2 separate regions of the Homo sapiens genome follow, and region 2 is linked to region 1. Evidence: promoter capture Hi-C in human tissues and cell types (Jung and others, 2019). All regions are on one chromosome and are shown on one strand. The core of a region is centred on a gene start or on the middle of the fragment in contact, and the rest is flanking DNA. Distances in the headings are between cores, read along the strand shown. Region 1 holds the start of AKAP7 (A-kinase anchoring protein 7). Region 2 overlaps EPB41L2 (erythrocyte membrane protein band 4.1 like 2).

Region 1 (5,225 bases), core at 1-2,500:
GTTAATAGTGTCCGAAAATGGATGAAAGGAGGAAGTAACCTCCACAAACATCTTAAACTTTATGAGTAAGGAAAATATACAGATATGCTAACAGGATCCTGAATTGCAAAGCCACGGCACTTAAACAAGGAACTGGAGTATGGCTCTTTTCTCCTTAACAATTTCCATTCCCATGCATTTCCTAAATGCAAAAACTCACTGTCATCATTCACTTAACAATTGTCAACATATTCACACGATTAACTGCTATTTATATAGTACACTTTAACGTTTTTATGCTTTTTATACTCTTCTATGAGTTTATCCTATGAAACTCTTGCAGAGGAGCACCTTTTCTCTAATTGGTTTGCGGACCCTTTTACCGAAAGTCCACCCCTAACTCGCTCTATCACAAAGTTCAGTTCACAACAAACGCTGACCTAAACTGGAAATTCATTCCGGGCGCTAGTGTAGACTTGGCGCCAGTTTTAAAAGCGGTCATGTCCAAACCTGGCAGAAAATCCTAAATGAGACAGTATGGTGGTTCGGGTGCTTAATATTTGTGATATAAGATAAAATCGAAATTTTACTAGGTTTTGTTTACATTTACCCACATCAACACCGTCGGAAGGAATGTGTACTGGCATGAACTTTGTGCAAAGGGTCACAGGATGAGAAAGGGAGAAAGAAAAGTGAAACTCGGGGATGGGCTCATACCCCCGCCTCCTGTCGGACCCACAATGCGTGCATTAAAACGCTTCGCTACAGGCAGCACTGATGTACACCCCGGTTGCACCGGGCTTCTCGGTGCTACCCTGAGTCCTTTTGGGAAGGAGGGAGACTCGGAGAAGGGCCGGCGCGGGTCAGGCCCTCCCAAAGTTCGAGCGCAGAGCAGGCCCAGGCCCCCGCGGCTCCTGTCGCCCCCGCCCCGGCCCGCTGGACAGCCCGGTCTCACCCGCTTCGGGGCGCTCCATGGTCGCGGCGCATGCGGGCGGCGCGTCTGGGCTGGCGGCAGCGGCGGTGGCGGGCCGCGTCCCGGGGCTGGAGGCGAGGCCGAGGCGGAGGCCAGGGCGGGGCTCGGGGCCTGAGGGCGGTGCGCTGGGCCGGCGCGGGGTCCAGCGACAGGCTGCGGGGGCCCGGGCGGCGGAGGCCAGGCCTGCGGAAGCGCGGAGCTTCCCAAGCCGCAGCCCCCGCGGCAGCGGCAGCAGCGGCGGCGGCAGCCGCAGCAGCCGCAGCACCCGCATGCCAGGCCGGACGCCGGAACAAGCCAGAAGGGGCCGACCCGAGTCGCCGGTGGTACCCGGATTCGGGCGAGAGGCGCGGACGCGCTCGGGCAGGGCGGGGGAAACTAGGGCCGGCGACTGCGGCGTCACGGCAGCCCAGGTCGTCTCGACTCTGCAATGCGACGCTGGGTCTTCGCCTGCCTGCCGAGCCCCGCGGCCTCCGACGGCCTTTGGCAGCCCTCATTTATTTCCCGTGGCGCAGCCTTGCCCCTCCCACGCTTTCAAGGGCGAGATTGGGACTAGGATGAAAGAATTCTCTGGCCTGGTGTCTTTTGAGAATCCATGTGCTTAGTTTTGCAATCAGGGTTCTGATTGCAGAATATTTGGGAAGAGCGAAATGTACAAGAACGAGACCTTGTACTTCTGTATAATGAGATACTTTATTTACCTTACTTTTAAAAACTGCAAATTGTGACAAAGTCTCTAATTTTTAACAATGATGTTATGTTTAGACATTAAGAGGAAACCAGTTGCTGGTTCTTGTAGTATAAGGTACTGCAGTGAGTAAATTGGGAGAAAAAGAAATTTACTTAGTTTAAAAAAATAAAAACCTTTCACTTGAAACGGAATGCTATTGGGATTGGTTTTAGTGCGAAGAAACCAGGGGTTAAGAACATTAGGTGCATCCGTCCACAAATTAGCGCCTTTCGTGAATAATAACACTTCGCTTATGTTGAATGCATCGTAGAATAGGGATGGAAGAAAAGAAGACCCCTACACAGCCACAACAGCTGGCGTAAAGGCTGCACACTAGAAGTCGGCAAACTAGTTACTCTGATTTTCAAATAATTCTAACACGTTGAGTTTCTGATGCCCATTTATGGGCTGGTAGGAAAGTACAACCAGTTCCCCTAATATTTATTTAATGCTTGAGCTCTGTGCTGAGGATGTGCAGGTAAGACAGGTCTTTTACTTATGGAGCTGATCATATAATAGCAGAGAAAGAAACATAAGTAACTGCGGAAATAAAAGCTGCAAAAATGTGGTCCACATTCATAGTGAAGAGGATGAGAATATGCCACCCCAAATATGCCACTTCAGCATAAGGATTATTCTTGAGCTTAAAACAGTTCAGAAACTAAAGACTCAGGAACAACTTTGACCTCCCCCTTTCTGCCTAAAAGCAGGACATAAATTTCCCTTCGTAAAGGTGACATAAATTTTTATTTTTAAAGCTTTACCAGGCCGGGCCCAGTGGCTCACGCTTGTAACCCCAACACTTTGGGAGGTCAAGGCGAGTGGATCACTTGAGTCCAGGAGTTTGAAACCAGCCTGGGCAACATAGCAAAACCCTGTCTCTACCAAAAATACAAAAATTAACCAGACGTGGTGACCCATGCCTGTAATCCCAGCTACTCCAGAGGCTGAGGTGGGAGGATCGCTGGAGCCCAGGAGGTGGAGGTTGCAGTGAGCTGAGATGATGCCATTGCACTCCAGTGTGGACAACAGAGCCAGATCCTGTCTCAAACAAACAAACAAACAACAAAGCTTTACCACTCACCCATACCAGAAAGAGGAGAATGAGTCTTACCTGCATAACAAACCCATACATTTTCTAGTAACCTTCCCATACTGCAAAAAGGCTAAGCCCCCTTTTCCTTTGTCTAGCCTCTCCACACTTTATCATCGTTAAAATGGTATAGAAGCCCCCAGTTCTAACTGCCTCTTCGGGCTTTTAGTTCTTTCCTGTGAAGCATCTATGTGCATGTGTAATAATCCTTTTCTCGTCTTAATCTGTCTTTTGTCAATTTAATTTACACAGTCCAACCTAGTGAACTAAATGGGCAGGAGAAAGATTTTTCTTCCCCTGTGGTGTGTACCAAGAGATATATGGAAGTTTCATTCTCTTACCTAAGCAGAGGTAACAGCCCAAATGCCACATATTTTTCACCACCAGTATTATGAATACAGAGTCTTATCAACACCTACCATGTGGAGGAACATTTTAATTACCCAAGTCTGAAAAAGGAATTTTTCACAGAGCTTCTTTTAGAAATGACAGGGAGAAAGGGAAGTACAAGGTGAACCTTGGACATCTTCTTGTGCCAAAAAGCAAAGACAAATGGGGACTATCAAAAACACAAGGACTAGCGAGAAACAGCTTTCTTTGAGCAAATGGGAGATAATCTGACATCATAAAAGGATAACACCTGTAATTATTGTAACATACTGAATACAAAATCTATATACCCATAATAATACTCAAAAAATGAGGAAGAAAAACTAGTAGGCCACCATTAAAGGTGACAAGTACGCAATTCCTTAGTCTCCTTACTCTAAAAATTAAAGGGAAAGAAAGATTTACCATGACTTTTTAGAAGTAGTAGTATGGGAAAGCTGCTTTGCACAGAAGAATTTTCAATAATAAATATAGGAGACATAAAATAATTGGAAAATTACCATTTTGCCACCACAACTGATAACTGATTGATGCAAAGATCATCAATATATTCTAAAACCATTACATGAAAGGTTAATGTGGACCGAAATATTTATAAGTTGCCAAAATACTACCCCCCACAAAATACTTGGTAATTGCTCAGGAGAGAACATATTTTTACTCCATGTAAATAAACCTGGTTGTCACCACCTTTATCGTGATTAAACTCAGCATCATTAATGGTGGACAATCTGTGAAAGCTCCTGTGAAAGCTATATCATCACTGCAAGGTAGTCTTGCCATAAATATTTCACCTGAAGCTGCTAAGGCTTTAAATATAATTTTCAGATTTCCAGAAATACAGGAGATAGAGGTACAAGTAAAATAACATGATGAGGAAAGAATCAGACCAATCCAGAATGTGTGACATTCTAGAAAATAATTGGCTCAGGCTTTTCAAAATCTCGGTGGGGTGTTGTGGTCCAGGAACAGTGTGGTAGCTTAAAACTAAACCCTTCCAATCCAGTTGTTTTGGCACTGTGCCAGTGTATATTGTCCTCTGGGGAGAAAAGGGCTGTGTACTAATAGTCAGGGAGGAATGGGCAGAACATACGGAGGGAGAGGGAAGTGTGGACCAGAGGATCCATGCCCTCATGAGTCGTGCTGCAGGTGAACCTTCGTTAAAGCATTGGGCAACCTGGTTCTTTTTTGCTTTCATAAAACAAATTAATACCTATGAATTCATCTTTTTTTTTTTTTTCTGAGACGGAATCTCGCTCTGTCGCCCAGGCTGGAGTGCGGTGGCGCAATCTCGGCTCACTGCAAGCTCCGCCTCCCGGGTTCCCGCCATTCTCCCTGCTCTACTTCCCGAGTAGATGGGACCACAGGCGCCCGCCACCACGCCCGGCTAATTTTTTGTATTTTTTAGTAGAGACGGGGTTTCACTATGTTAGCCAAGATGGTCTCGATCTCCTGACCTCATGATCCGCCCGCCTCGGCCTCCCAAAGTGCTGGGATTACAGTTGTGACCCACCGCGCCTGGCCGAATTTATCTATTTAATTGATTTTCAATATTAACTGGTTCTGTCAATAACCAAACATCCTATAGGGATTTTTAAGATTTTTAAGCCTCTATGTCAGTTTGCCGATTATCTCTAACCTTAACTCATTCTCAGCACCATTTAGCAGTTATTAAATAGAGTTTGTTTCCCACATCAGTACATTGAACTGTCCTACTGCTGTCACAGGGGACCGCAGCTATGGTCAAGATCAGTAGGAACTGTCAGTGACCTCCTTTGGGGAACAGTCCCTGACCCCACCCTTCTACTTGGGTTAGGTACTCCACCTGAGGGCTTTAATACTCCTTGTGCCCGCTCTGACCATCCCTTTTGCCACATTTTTCTGTTTCATACATTAGACTTTACGCCACTAGAAGGCAAAGACTATGTTTTAAAGTCTTCGTATTCCCAAATGCATAGAGATTTCTCAATGAATAGACATTCAATGAATGAATAAAACTTTTATAAGCATCCAGATCCATTAAGTACTCAGATTTGTCAAAAAATAAAGCAGCACTCCCAGAT
Region 2 (5,225 bases), core at 1,653-4,152, 190 kb after region 1:
CTAACTGTGAGCAGCCATCCTGACATACTTTTGAAGAAACTGTCCACCTCTTGCTGGATAGGCATGCTACACACTGGCAGCCATGCCAACTCCTTGGTGATTTACCACTTAGTAAGTTTTTACCCTCATCAGAGGGTGGTAGTAGAACAGGAACTAGATCTTTGAATTATTTCTCTGTTTTGGAATGAAAATTACTTCAGGGTCGAGTAAGGTTAGAAATGTTGGGAAAAGTTATTTTCAGAATAAAATTTATGCTTTAAAATCAGTTTGGACACATTTTTGTTACTTTAAAATATGTACTCACGCCAGTTAGAATGGCGATCATTAAAAAGTCAGGAGACAACAGATGCTGGAGAGGATGTGGAGAAATAGGAACGCTTTTACACTGTTGGTGGGAGCATGAATTAGTTCAACCATTGTGGAAGACAGTGTGGAAGATCCTTAAGGATCTAGAACCAGAAATACCATTTGACCCAGCAATCCCATTACTGGGTATATACCCAAAGGATTATCAATCATTCTACCAAAAAGACACATGCACATGTATGTTTATTGCAGCACTATTCACAGTAGCAAAGACTTGGAACCAACCCAAATGCCCATCAATGATAGACTGGATAAAGAAAATGTGGCACATATACACCGTAGAATACTATGCAGCCATAAAAAAGCATCAGTTCGTGTCCTTTGCAGGGACATGGATGAAGCTGGAAACCATCATTCTCAGCAAAACAGGAACAGAAAACCAAACACCGCATGTTCTCACTCATAAGTGGGAGTTGAACAATGAGAACACATGGACACAGAGAGGGGAACATCACACACCAGGGCCTGTCAGGTGGTGGAAGCTAGGGGAGGGATAGCATTAGGAGAAATACCTAATGTAGATGACAGGTTAATGGGTGCAGCAAACCACCATGGCACATGTATACCTATGTAACAAACCTGCACGTTCTGCACACATATCCCAGAACTTAAAAGTATAATTTAAAAAAATATATGTAGGCAGTAAAATTTAAAAAATCTTTGCCAGAGTTCATCAAATGAAGGGATGTAATCTAATTACACTCTCTCATGCAACAACAATTATCAGTATCTTTTGTTAAATCCACTGTGTTTAGAATCATTCTGTCATCATTACTGTTTTATTTCTAGTCTTTGATTTCTTTTCTATTGCTTCCTGTTCTTCTGAACAAATTTAAGATGATGTTACTGACATAGTTTTTGTTTTTCAGCTATCAGGAAATTTTACCAATTATTTGCTTTCCTCATCCTACCTCCACCTTCCCAGCTGCCAGGCATGATATGGGGGACAGGGATTTGAGAATCTTGTCTCCACCTGTGAATGTTGTTTAATTTATCACACAAAAGCTGGAATTAGGTGCATTCTATTCATCCATTCCCTTAGCAGGAGCACATACTCTGTGGCCAAGTGGAAACATGGACAGAATTTATCATTAGTATTTATAGCACTATAACATAATATGCCAGCATTTGGAGCTTAAAGGGATTGAATGCGGTATAACATAATAAAATACAGTCTGTAAAAATCCGTGGATTATTCAGAAAAATAGTTTTATGATGCAAGGTGGCTAAATTATTAAAGCACTGACATAAATGATCTGTCAGTTTGCTATTTAAATATTTATTTAATTATGCTCTACAATGGAGTTATACATCAACTCTGAACTGTGTTAGAAAAATTATGATTAGGAGTATTAATTTATCTTTTATTTTGTTTTGACTCTTATATTCTGGAGAGGCACCTGAGGGCACAAGCTCCATTCTGTCTAGTAATCAAACTACATCTCATAAGTGTACTTCATTTGCAGAATATGCCATTTTAGCCTGTTTTGAGATTAAGCCTGATTTTGTGCATCAGTCTGGTTATTTGCACAGAGAGGAAACTTAATCTGAGTGTTACCACCATCTACTTGTTGTATTCACTGACATCTCCTTCCAGATTTCTGTCAGCAACAATTTCAAGTGAATCAAATAGGACTGCTCTGATAAGCTATTCTTCCGTAGCACAGAAAGCCTGTATGAATCAAATGTCAAAATTCATTCTAGGCAAATAGTTTACAGAGAATGTGCTAGCCTACAGAAGTTTGCTGCTCATGGTTTTTGAAATAAGTTTTCATGGAAATATGGTGCTTAGCAACTTTTATGAAAGATACTTAAAAAAATTTGGTGTGCGCTTCTGGCTAGAAGTTCGATACTAGCCTCTTTATTATCTAACAGTTATAGTCAATTCTCCGTCTTTTAAAAGAGATTATAATTCATTAGAGACTTAAGCTAAGTCTTGCTGTTTAAAGTGAGTAGTAGAAAAAGTTGGACAAAAATCCTGGGTTTTCATTTTTAAAAAATTAATGACAGGGTTGCTAGTCTCCCTTTGTGATGGTATATAATTTTTAAGAAAAATGAGAAGTTAAGGAAGTCATATTTTCACACTATTTTACAAATTTCCTCTCAAAATAGTATTTATTTAAATATATCCTATGTGTTCAGAAATAATTTTTATCCCCAGATATTGATTTGGTTCCTACTTGAGCTGAGAAGATAAAAAGAAAAGTATGAAGTATCATTTTTCCTTTTATTTATGAATTTTACTTTCAGAGATAAGCTTTACATATAAGACAGTAATAGCAGGTGTTTATACACACACACACTTATATCCACATACATAAACATATGAGTCAAATTGATAAAGTATTGTTTATAGTTCTGAAAAGTAATACAAAAGCACAGAAGTGCCAAGTTACTATAGGCTGGAGTCGGTATGCATGTCTTCACTGAGGAGAAACTTTTGGATTTCAAAGAATGATATATTTAGGGCTGAGCACGCTGGCTTATGCTTGTAATCCCAGGACTTTGGGAGGCCGAGGCGGGCAGATCACACTTGAGGTCAGGAATTTGAGACTAACCTGGCCAATGTGATGAAACCCCATCTCTACTAAAAATACAAAAATTAACTGAGCATGGTGAGGGGGCACCTGTAGTCTCAGCTACTTGGGAGGCTGAGGCACAAGAATTGCTTGAACCCAGGAGGTAGAGTCTACAGTGAACCAGGATCATGCCACTGCAGTGCAGCCTGGGCGACAGAGTGAGACTCCATCTCCCAAAAGAAAAAAAAAAAAGATATATTTAGGAAAAACTCAGCTATACCCTAACCTAACCTATTACATTTTTCATTTTAAAACTGCTTAAATAGTAGCATCCAAGCAAAAATTGGGGGTTACAAGAAAGAAAAGGTTTTAATATATCCTTGCGTATCAAGGATGACATAAAAAAAATGTACCAGAAACATTTGTTCAGGGCAAACCACTTTCCTGGCTTTACAGGGCTAGTGTTGCCATTTTTGATCCAGGCTTTCTTTGGCTTGGCATTAACTAGGAATCTTCATCTTGCAAAGCCAGTGTATTTATTGGGGTTTAAATAAATTAAGCTCTTTGCTTCTGCTAAATCTATGGAGAAGTGGATTCCCACCCATGGGAAAGAAAGCATAAAATACAAATGCACTGATCCTACCTCCTATCCTTTTTCAGTCTGCTTATCCTAATTTTGCTTTTCCCAGGTTCCTTGCATTGGGGGAAGAATCACGTGTGCATATGTACACAGTAACATGTACACTCTGCATTGTCTTAGAACAGATTTTGTAGGGAACAGAGCTAAGTGTGCATGTTCATTCTACCATCTTTAATTGGAAGTCTATTTTCTACTTAATAAAAGTTGAACGATGAGCATGTTTTGTCACATACTAAAATAAAGTGGACTCTTCCCCTGAATATAGCACATGTCAAAGTTACCATTAGGCTCTCTGGATATCTTCTAAAAAGACTTTTGATTGTGGTAGCTTTAGTAGCATCTGTTTTGACATAGTTCATTGTTTTCTTGCAGATGCTTTTCATTAGTTTTCATTTTGTTGCTTTAGTATTCCCTGCTGGTGTCTAGATAATCCGTTTTATTTTGCATGTGTGTTTAATTGGGGGGTGGGTCCTAGGAGATGAAAGAGGATAGAAATGCTTTTCTCCTTAAAATATGTTATTTGGGGCCGGGCGCGGTGTCTTACATCTGTAATCCTAGCACTTTGGGAGGCCGAGGTGGGCGGATCACGAGGTCAGGAGTTTGAGACCAGCCTGGCCAACATGGAGAAACCACATCTCTACTAAAGATACAAAAAATTAGCCGGGCTTGGTGGCACACGCCTGTAATCCCAGCTACTTGGGAGGCTGAGGCAGGAGAATTGCTTGAACCCGACAGGCGGAGGTTGTAGTGAGCGGTGATCACACCACTGCACTCCAGCCTGGGTGATAGAGTGAGACTCAGCCTCAAAAAAAAAAAAAAGTTATTTGGGTTTTTGGCAAATAGGTGCAATTCATTTGTTATTCACTTGGTTTGGGTCACTATTTATTATATATAGTTTTGTGGCTTTATTCATTAAACATTTCTGGACCAAGCATTGGTGATATCATGAGGGATTTTTAGTCTCCTCTGCCCCTGGTTGGAGCCTGTGCAGTAAAGGGGAAAGATTTCATTCCTGTGTTCATGGTTGGGTTTCACACTGATTTACTTTTCTATTTCTTGGTGCTTTTCGCCGTTAGACTTTCTTGTTACTAGTTCCATGATGATATCCAGGTGTTCCTTTATAGTATTATAATACAAAAAATGTTCTAAGCTTCCTGCCTACTTTTTCTTCCTCTGGAAACAAAATCCCTACTTTTTCAAATCTAGCAGATAAGCAGCTAAGTAACAGAGGATCAGCAGTTTGAGTGAATGACTTTAGTGTGTGAATTACCTGTACTGCCTTCTAAGAGATCTCTGTATTTTAAAAGAAGATACCTGTTTACTCTAAAGAATCTAGTGGTCGAATTCTAGTGGTAGAATTTCACTATTGAAGCCAAGAGAAGTAAAAAAATAAAGGCATTTTGGGGTGGGAGGAGGCTAGAGGGCTGGATTTTTGGCATCTTTGGATCAGGTGGGCACACTACCAGTAGTACAGCCTTTTTGAAAGGCACGGTTCAGGGCCATGTTCACCCAAAGCTGCTTAACTTTCCTGCTTCTGAATTCTAGGTTCTTTCTGATGCCTCAGAGTTTCCTCCTTACATAGTTGTAGCATTTTTTGTGTATGTGTGTTTTAAATCAAGCAAGACCTTAAAGATTCACCCAGCCAGGTCCCCCTCCCTCCACACTCCAGTGGTGAACAAAGACCTTGTTGTCACTTTGTC

Evidence for each region. Contacts are between HindIII fragments. The study calls those that stand out against the background at their distance.
Region 2: a contact is called between a fragment that was not itself captured here and the fragment with the promoter of AKAP7 in region 1, in 2 of the 25 tissues and cell types used here (IMR-90 fibroblasts and adrenal gland).

The regions. Positions count from the first base shown.
Region 1 is chr6:131,131,492-131,136,716 of GRCh38, reverse strand. It overlaps AKAP7 (A-kinase anchoring protein 7), which reads right to left and starts at 1,250. Exons shown (of 8, transcript NM_016377.4): 1 at 935-1,250. The coding sequence starts at 953. RefSeq lists enhancers at 623-682, 1,119-1,619 and silencers at 943-1,052, 1,203-1,292. The HindIII fragment of the contact is 8,304 bases long and covers 1-2,594 here.
Region 2 is chr6:130,938,377-130,943,601 of GRCh38, reverse strand. The region is part of intron 3 of EPB41L2 (erythrocyte membrane protein band 4.1 like 2); the gene reads left to right. Among named protein-coding and RNA genes, the nearest start is that of SMLR1, 110 kb to the right of the region's middle. The HindIII fragment of the contact is 5,157 bases long and covers 324-5,225 here.